Linked DNA regions of Homo sapiens: all the other regions are linked to region 1. The links are contacts of gene promoters, found by promoter capture Hi-C in blood cells and fetal thymus (Javierre and others, 2016). All regions are on one chromosome and are shown on one strand. Each heading gives the region's core, a stretch centred on a gene start or on the middle of the fragment in contact. The rest is flanking DNA. Distances are from core to core; before and after follow the strand shown.

The links. Contacts are between HindIII fragments. The CHiCAGO score rates a contact against its expected background, and 5 or more counts as called.
Region 2: the fragment with the promoter of SARNP here is called in contact with the fragment with the promoter of ATP23 in region 1 in 1 of 17 cell types (neutrophils); the score reaches 5.9 in neutrophils.
Region 3: the fragment with the promoter of BLOC1S1 here is called in contact with the fragment with the promoter of ATP23 in region 1 in 3 of 17 cell types (non-activated CD4 T cells, monocytes and neutrophils); the score reaches 7.6 in non-activated CD4 T cells.

The regions. Positions count from the first base shown.
Region 1 is chr12:57,940,239-57,943,167 of GRCh38, reverse strand. It overlaps ATP23 (ATP23 metallopeptidase and ATP synthase assembly factor homolog), which reads right to left and starts at 1,601. Exons shown (of 6, transcript NM_033276.4): 1 at 1,280-1,601. The coding sequence starts at 1,466. RefSeq lists enhancers at 297-466, 923-1,732. The HindIII fragment of the contact is 6,393 bases long and covers 1-2,929 here.
Region 2 is chr12:55,816,314-55,819,229 of GRCh38, reverse strand. It overlaps SARNP (SAP domain containing ribonucleoprotein), which reads left to right and starts at 1,506. Exons shown (of 11, transcript NM_033082.4): 1 at 1,506-1,564. The coding sequence starts at 1,529. ORMDL2 (ORMDL sphingolipid biosynthesis regulator 2) reads right to left here and starts at 1,189. Exons shown (of 4, transcript NM_014182.5): 1 at 1,118-1,189; 2 at 57-231. The coding sequence starts at 230. The HindIII fragment of the contact is 4,326 bases long and covers 1-2,653 here.
Region 3 is chr12:55,714,796-55,717,383 of GRCh38, reverse strand. BLOC1S1 (biogenesis of lysosomal organelles complex 1 subunit 1) reads right to left here and starts at 1,338. Exons shown (of 4, transcript NM_001487.4): 1 at 1,188-1,338; 2 at 379-451. The coding sequence starts at 1,332. BLOC1S1-RDH5 (BLOC1S1-RDH5 readthrough) reads right to left here and starts at 1,350. Exons shown (of 6, transcript NR_037658.1): 1 at 1,188-1,350; 2 at 379-451. It also overlaps a transcript of ITGA7 not described here. RefSeq lists enhancers at 634-873, 1,154-1,293. The HindIII fragment of the contact is 4,864 bases long and covers 406-2,588 here.

The DNA of each region.
Region 1 (2,929 bases), core at 352-2,851:
ACCTGGGAGGCACTCAATACATATTTGTACAGTAAATACAATATCATCATTCTCTCCCCTTTTACCCTCAACTCCCCTTCCTCCTCCTACCTCCCTGAGTCTCTACAAGCAGGTAATCCCAAGAAGGTTGGAAAATCTTTCGGTGGTTGACTTTTGAACTGTGACTGACTAGCTATGAAATAGTAACCTTGCTTTGGGACAAGTATGTTTAAGACTAATTTTCTGAATGTATCTGAAAGTAAACTTAAGAAGTCTATGTCAATGTAAAGGAATTAAGAAATCTTCTCTAGTGCAATGTCTCTGGGACGGGAGAGAAATTTGTCAATGGGCAGTTGTGTCCCTGTTTAACCCACAGCAGTTCTTAACCTTTGTGGGGTCGTTGGCCTCTTTGAGAATATGATGAAGCTATTAACTCTCTCCCCCGACCAAAAAAAAATACACTTTGGGCCGGGCGCAGTGACTCACGCCTGTAATCCCAGCACTTTGGGAGGCCGAGGCAGGCAGATCACGAGGTCAGGAGATCAAGACCATCCTGGCTAACACGGTGAAAACCCGTCTCTACTAAAAATACAAAAAATTAGCAGGGTGTGGTGGCGAGCGCCTGTAGTCCCAGCTACTCGGGAGGCTGAGGCAGGAGAACGGCGTGAACCCAGTAGGCGGAGCTTGCAGTGAGCAAAGATCGCGCCACTGCACCCCAGCCTGGGCGACAGAGCGAGACTCCGTCTCAAAAAAAAAAAAAAAATGCACTTAGGGGCACACACACACACATACACACGATTTCACAGACCATTTCAGGGATTTCTACGCTCTGAAGCCCATTCATGCATGAACCACTTCCAAGGAACGGTAGGTTTGCAAAACTGCTTTTATATTTTTACAGCCTTGGTATGCCTTAATTACATTTTTACATTTTTACAGCCTTTGTGTGCCTTAATTAACCTGGCTGGCACTTTAAAACTTGGCCTCACCCTTACCCTGAAGTCACAGTGTGGCTGCATAACTTATGTAAGAAATCGGAGGATCTGTCACAACAGTGAGTGACAAAAAAGGGCAGACAAATTCATTCCACAAGCCAAAAACAGCGACGAAAAGGGTCTCAGCGCCACCTCTAGTGGGGAAACTGAGCCTCAGGCTCCCAACCCAGCCCCCATGATGCCCAGTCTGTCTAGACTCTGTGCTGAACCTGAAGCCCCTGGCCAGGTGTTGCCCAGGCCCTTCCTCGCCCACCCGGTCTCAGACCCATTCTGTGGAACCACAGCCTCCAGGTCATGGCTCCTACTTGTCTCCAGCGTCTTCAGGAGCCTAAGCTGGCACTTCTGGTTGCTGGTGAAGAAGCTGGAGAAGAACCCTTGCTGGGGATTCCCCTGGGCCAGACGCTCGGGGAAGACCTGGCAAGAGACGTGTTGCTGCTGCAGCTGCTCCCCTGCCGCGGGGCCCCGCCGGCGCTCGTCCGGAGCTCCCGCCATGCCTCCCGCAGACCTCGCCGCTGCTTCCTCCTGGCTCAGGCGGCCAGAGCGAGACTGGGAAAGGTAACCTCCCTCCCGCCAACGCGACCGCCCAGGCCCTCCCTCCGCAGGGAAGAAGGGCAGCCTGGCTGGGCTGAAGACGTTAGGCGGGAGGGGGCTTTGAACCTGACGGGGAGCGCGGGAGGCGGGGCGAGAGGCGAGGGGCGGGGCGAGAGGCGAGGGGCGGGGCGAGGGATGAGGGGCGGGGCGAGGGCATGGGGCGGGGCGCGGGGCCCGATGCTGTTGGGCGGAGCTGGGTCTTGCGACTTCCCTCAAAGGCTGTAACAACCCGGCTGCCGCGGATTTCGCTGCTGCCCTCCCAGTGTGGGTGACATGTCTTTATAAGCGTTGTTCTGCAGCTTCCTGCTGCCTGCTGAGCTCTAAGGGTGTCCCGCCTCCTCGCAGACACTCCTTCCTCACCTCGGGGCGAATATTGGCCACTAACTGCTCTTGTGCCGCCGAAGGTCTCGGCCATCCTCCCACTCCCTGCCTTCTTCCGGGGCAAGCCAGTTGTCATTTCTGGCCCGCCACTTTCCCGACCCCTGCCATCCCTCAGATCCACTCTGCCCAAAGATGCCTCTGGCCATATTGAAAGCAGTGTTTTTCAGAAACGTTTTAAAACTATAAAGAATGACTAGTCACATCAAAATCCTCAAAATGTAGGAACCAACTACATTTTTTCTTCCCACCTGTACCCATTCGTTTACCCTACTCTTCTGCCCCACCCCCCACCAATAACTCCCTGATAACAAAGCGCACCCTGTTTACTTCTACCTCTCAGCCTTAACTCATACTGTCATTTCCATCTTTAAGCTCCTTGCCTCAGCCCCTATGATTGGGGCCCAGGTCAAATCTGCCTACTCCACAGGGCATTCCCAGATACCTTAATCAAAATTAATGTCTCCTGATCTCCCAATGTACAAAGCACTTTGTACCTGTTAATCATTTTCATCGTAGCCTGCCAGGTTTTATCCAATTTGTGTGTTTCTCTTTTCCTACTAAATTATTCCACTCAGCTCACACATTTATTCAGCACCTACTATGATGGGCCAGGCAAGGTGTAAGAGACTGAGGAAACACATGACTAAGAAAATTGCTAAAGATGAAGAGCAGCATGTGGTTTATGTAAGAAACATATCTGAAAAATATAGGCTCAGCAGGCCTTTAGGGTTATGAACAGTGCTTTATGTGTCATAGATGCTCAATATCTAAATTGAGTGGGATGCTAGGATAGTCATTCATCTGGAATATTATAAAAATACAAACAACTCCTATGTACATAGACTATTAAAGCCAGAAGTCAAAAAAAAAGTAACTACTTTTTAATTAAATTCACCTTGGATACATTATTTCCAATCCTCACTACAACCCTGCAAAGTAAGTATTATCTCTAATTTGCAGATAAAGTGGGCTCAGCAAAATTC
Region 2 (2,916 bases), core at 257-2,756, 2.1 Mb after region 1:
TTTGCTTTTGGTTGGGAAACCCTGGGGTGGGTACAAGGGCGTGGTTTAGTGCTCACCAGGTTATGGATGACGTTGGTCAGGGTCCAGACAACAGGAATGCTGAAGAAGGGGATGCTGAGTAGAACCATATGCAGCAATCCTACCAAGATGATGTAGGCCAGCCAGATGCCTCGGCTATTCATCACTCGGGTGTTGGGGTTTACTTCGCTGTGTGCCACCCCCACATTCATCCTAGCCGTAATGGGGGATCAGGCAGGAGTCCAGCTCAGTTTTTTCTCAACCCCTCTTGAGCTATCTCCCAGTTGTCTCTCAGATAGCCCCAATCCCCTGAACTCTATTGGGAATGAAGAACTTACCCATCACGCAGAAAATAAAAACTGAAGACTTGGGGAAAACTTTAAAAGACAAGAAGAGTCCTCACTACATTTCAGAGACATAGTCATTATTGCTCTGATCTTTACACGTCAACTGTAACATGAAGGTGTATGTGTAGGCTTGGGGCACTCACTTCAGGGAGCAAGGGAAATAGGAGTATCTGACTTTGCTGAAGAAGTTAATAACCATGAAGAGGTCACGTACACCCAGAATTCCAGGCGAAAGTCATGGAATCATCAAAGAACCACTAAGAAGGGATGACAGAGTAAAGCTCACTCTGGTCCCCACTTTGTTCTCTGGGGCTTGTCCACCCTCTCTCTCACCTCCGTGGCATGTAAACAGTCTGCATCCCCATTACTTCTCTCAAGCGTGGGGCACGACAACAACTTGCCCACGGCTTCTGGACTGGGTTAGGAAGGGACCTGAGCTCAATACCTCGAAAGGTGGAGCCTTGGCTCTGACTCCAGGGGCAGCAGTGATTATCTGAACTCGGATCTTTAAAATTGTGGTAGCTCTAAAGCTGATGATGTCTGGTTAGGAAGCGGCTCTTGCCCGCCCCAGCCCCACCGCCAGTTCCTTAAGCCCGCCCCATGCCCCTCCCAGCTTCCTCCTCATGTTCATCGGTTTTTTCAGGGCTCCCTTCAGCGCTCCCCTCTCAGTATTTAGGTCACCACTCCCTCGGCGCCCCTTTCGCCTCCCACCATTTTTCCTCAGCAACCCTTACAGTCTTTGCAGCTCCTACCTGCCAGCTCAGATCCCCGTCCGGCTATGGGCGCGGCGCCGGCTACCACACCTGAAGTCTCCAGGAAGTAACGCCTCTCCTTCTGCCCCTTTCCTATTGGAGGAACAGAATCAGCGCTGCCACCACCCATTGGTTGGTGGTCTGTAATGCAGAAGCACAGTTGGTTGCCATTTCTGTCGTTCGCAAGATACAGTGCCCGCCCCTCTCCCAGTTCCACCTTTTGAAAGAGGTGGGGCAAGCTGCCTAGAGAAGTGAGAGCGACGTCAGCTATTGACCAATGGGAAGAGCTGATGGTATGGCGTGGGAGCAAGAGTGACAACGATTGGTCAGCCTTGCATCTCTACGCCTAAGGCGGGAGCTCCTGGAGGCGGAGGCCGCGGGTGGGGGCCTAGTGGAGTGAGGGGTAACAAGATGGCGACCGAGACGGTGGAGCTCCATAAGCTAAAGGTACCGTGAATCGGGGAAGGGCTGAGTTGGACTTTTCTAGGAACTGAATTCTACAGGGTAGCTTGCGCCTTCTCCTACGTCTTCTCCGTGCAGCCTTTTCCACTTCGTTTCTCGGCTCCCGCCGTAGCTCTTTTGTGCCACCCTTCCACACTACGCCTTCCCTAATTTCCCATTTCTCCTCACGGCTTTACTGCTATATTTATTTGTTATTTCTGCTTCCTTCATCATTGTATCGTCCGTCACCCTTCCCCACTGGGTTGTGTAAGTGCCTTCTACCTGTTATACTCTTCGTTGCTTTTCAGGGCTGCATTACGTCAGTTGGTCCCTCCTTTTTGCCCCATGTCGGAGCCAGGATCCGTTTTTCTTCCCTGGGATGATGTTTCCAGTCTGTCGTCCGAAGCTGAGATTTCCCTGTTAGCAAATGGTGGCATTTTTGTGTATTTCTGTCTAAATAGGTACCAGACACTCAGAAAATACTTCCACTCCCCTTTTCTAGGTGGGATTACGCCCCAAGCCGAATTTTGAAACAGGGAGAGGCCTCTCAGAAGATCGGTCTCGCCTTAGAAGCCTGGGGTTGAGGAGGTCTTGAGAATAGTAGAAGTACAGACACCTCAGATTTAAAAGTTTTCGAGTTCTGTCACGCGGCTCTCGGCCCGCCAGCCTTCCTCACACACCATCTCCAACCACCAGAGAGAACTCACACCTGCAATATTTGGGAAAAACAATTCCAAGGTTAAGATTATCTCTGTTCCATTTCATATCTCGGGTGGGCCCTGCATCTCCTGGTGTTACCATTGGCTGACACTGAATCACAGAAGCTATTTTAAATTGTCTTATGAGACTCTTGGTAGTTTTTTCACACTTAGATATATAAAAAAGTTAAAAAAATATATTAAAAAGAAGAACATTTTAAAAAGTATTTTCTTTTAGGGTAAATTAAGATATCTTGAGTAATTGTCTGTTTGTGGTTTCACAAGTAGTTTTCCCATTAGATGTTTTGGACAAACCAGGCTGATATAGCTGAAACTGAAAAGTGATCCTTTAAAGCTCGAAAAGTTTTTTTTTGTTTTTGTTGCTGTTAAGAAAGCTTAAGGGTAGTAAGGGTAGGGAGAGGACCCTTCTTTAGTCACTTATTAGTTGACCCCAATTAGTCTTTCTGTGAAACTGATGTTTTTCTTACTCTTGGATTCTAAACTCTGTTAGTGGGTTTTTGTGTTATTCTGGAGTTATTGTTAACTTGATGATACTGAAATGCATAGACTATATCAGCGGTCTCTTGATCTTTATTGTGATGAGTTAAAAAAAATTGAGCAATCATCTCCACTTTGTTTATATATACTGTACTTATAGAA
Region 3 (2,588 bases), core at 89-2,588, 2.2 Mb after region 1:
AGAGGGTGGGAGGCAGAGGAGAGGGTGGTAAGCTGTAATGAAGGAGGGTGCTCTCCCTCCTGCTGAAGTGACAGCTGGACTTGGAAGGGTGAAGGGAGGTGGGCAGATGGCATCAAGTTGTAAATGCCAGGGAAGTTAACGTGGGGAAGGGGAAATCTGGCTGCTTCTCTAACCACGGCAGCTGTTCCTCCCTTGCCCAGTGCTAGGACTCAGAGTTGACTCAAGTTGCTCTACAAAGAGCTGGGAGGGGCGGGGTAGGATAGGGGAATTAGTGGAACATCCCACCCCTTCAACAGCTATTTGAGGGCCAGACTGGCCAGTGCCTAAACTTGGGCGGGGTGGGGAAGGAGGAAACTGATGTTGATAAGAGGTCCATACCCCACATTGAGGTGATCCACCAAAGCTTCTGTCAGGCAGGTCGCTGCAGTGATAGCCTCTCGCCTCCTCTTTTCTGGGGAGAGGGGGAAAAGGAATTGGAGGGGAGACTTGGTTTTTTGAGGGGTAGTGTTAAAGGTTCCCTACCCATCCATTACTATTCTGCTAGTTGCCGAAATTTCTTAACTAATCTCTGAATGCCGGAGCTGAAAAGGACCTTGCAAAACATAGCGCAACCTCTTTCATTTTAGAGATGAGGAAACTGGTACCCTGGGAGGGAAATGGACTCACTCAGGGACGCCAGGAAGTCAGCGGCAGCGCCCAGGACTCCTGACTCCCAGGCACTCTTTCTCCACTACTCGGCCGCAGAATCGGTAACTCCGAGATTTCCAGCCCGGACTCAGGAAACAAGTGCCCCACCTCCGTTCCGGTGGTTTCAGGCCTCCAAGAAGCCCATCTCTGGGGGGTTCCCCACACCCTCCTCCCTCCAGAGTCGCTCCTTCCCGCCGCCAGGACGAGAGGCTCCCAGGGCCAATAGGCAGGGCGCTCCGGGGCAGGGGCGGGGCTAAGGTGCGGCAGGTCGGGGATTGGGGGCGTTGCCGAGGGGACCGGAGTATTGCCCAAGGGACCGGAGCCAGTTGGCAAGGGAAAGGAGTTTCAAAAAAAGCCTCTCTGAAATTCCCTCTCCCCCATGCCCGTTGCCCGCTAGCTGGCGTCTTTCCCTGGATATGGTTAGTTACTCGAGATCCAGGCTCCGGGCTGAAGCTAGGCCGCGGCCGAAGAGAAAACGGCCGACAGGATATTTGGCTCACCCTGCAGCTCCTTGCGTTCATTCTGCTTGGCCTGGTGTTCTTTTAGGAGGCGGGACAGCATGGTCACGTCGGGCTGGGGGCTGGGTACGCCGGGCCCCCTCCGGCTCCGGAAGCTGGAACGCTCACCTCGGCTCCCCGGGGCCATGTCACGTGACCGCTGTGTCACGTGAGGTTGGGAACCGCCCTCTTGAGACCTTGGGTGAAGATCTTGGCGGGGAAGAGAGGTAGAGGGTTGCGGAGGGCAGGTGAAGTGTTCTTTATTGGGAGCTTAGTTTTTGGTGAGTGTTGGAAGAAGTATTTTCTAATACTTATATTGCCAAGCCAGTTTTTAACATTTCCTGTGGATCTCAGGCTTCGAGGGCTGGTGGTGTCAGGCCGTCTATCACCGTTTAATTGAGGGAGCAGAAGCTCCCTGGCCTCATTTAAATTATTCTCCTTCCCTCTCCTCACCTCCTGGCAGTGCTAGCTGGTTCTCAGTTGATTCCCAGTTCCTTCCCTCAAGGAGAGGATGCTTTCCTGTCTCTCCCAACCCTCTTTCTTCTCACTACCCCACTGAAGTCTCTCAGCTCTGGGTGATCATTGTAGAGAAGCATTTTAGGCACTTCAGACAGCCTCCTAGGGAGCTTGGCTAACTTGGCGGGCTGTGTGAATGTAGAATTTCATCTCTGTCCTTTTGTGGTCAGGAATGCGAACCCATTTCAGTGTTAGCAGAAGCGTAAGTGCTGTGCCAAAGTAAAAAGTAATTTATATAAGGCCTCTGTGAACTAAAAAGAAATGCTTCCGGGATTAACTCCAGCGAGAACAATTATAAACATCATGAGCATATTCTTGCTACTGGTACAATCTCTCTCGGTGCACCTTGCACTAACATGTTGGGTGACTTTGGGCAAGTTGCTCACCATTCTAGGTTATAGTTTTCTCTTTAGTAAAACTAGGAGAAGGGATTGGATTAAATCGGTGGTTCTCAACCCTGGCTAAGCATTAGAATCTAAACATTAGAATCACAGAAATCACAAGGCTTATAAAAATGCCGTGATTAGCCGGGTGCGGTGGCTCACGCCCGTAATCCCAGCACTTTGGGAGGCCGAGGCGGGCGGATCACGAGGTCAGGAGTTCGAGACCAGGCTGACCAACATGGTGAAACCTTGTATCTACTAAAAATACAAAATTTAGCCAGGCGTAGTGGCACAAGCCTGTAATCCCAGCTACTCAGGAGCCTGAGGCAGGAGAATCGCTTGAACCTGGGAGGCAGAGGTTGCAGTGAGCCGAGATCACGCCACTGAACTCCAGCCTGGGCGACAGAGTGGGACTCTGTCTCAAAAAAAAAAAAAAAAAAGCCTTGATTCCAGACTAATTAAATAGAATCTAAGGAGTGAAGACCAAACATCACTATATATATGT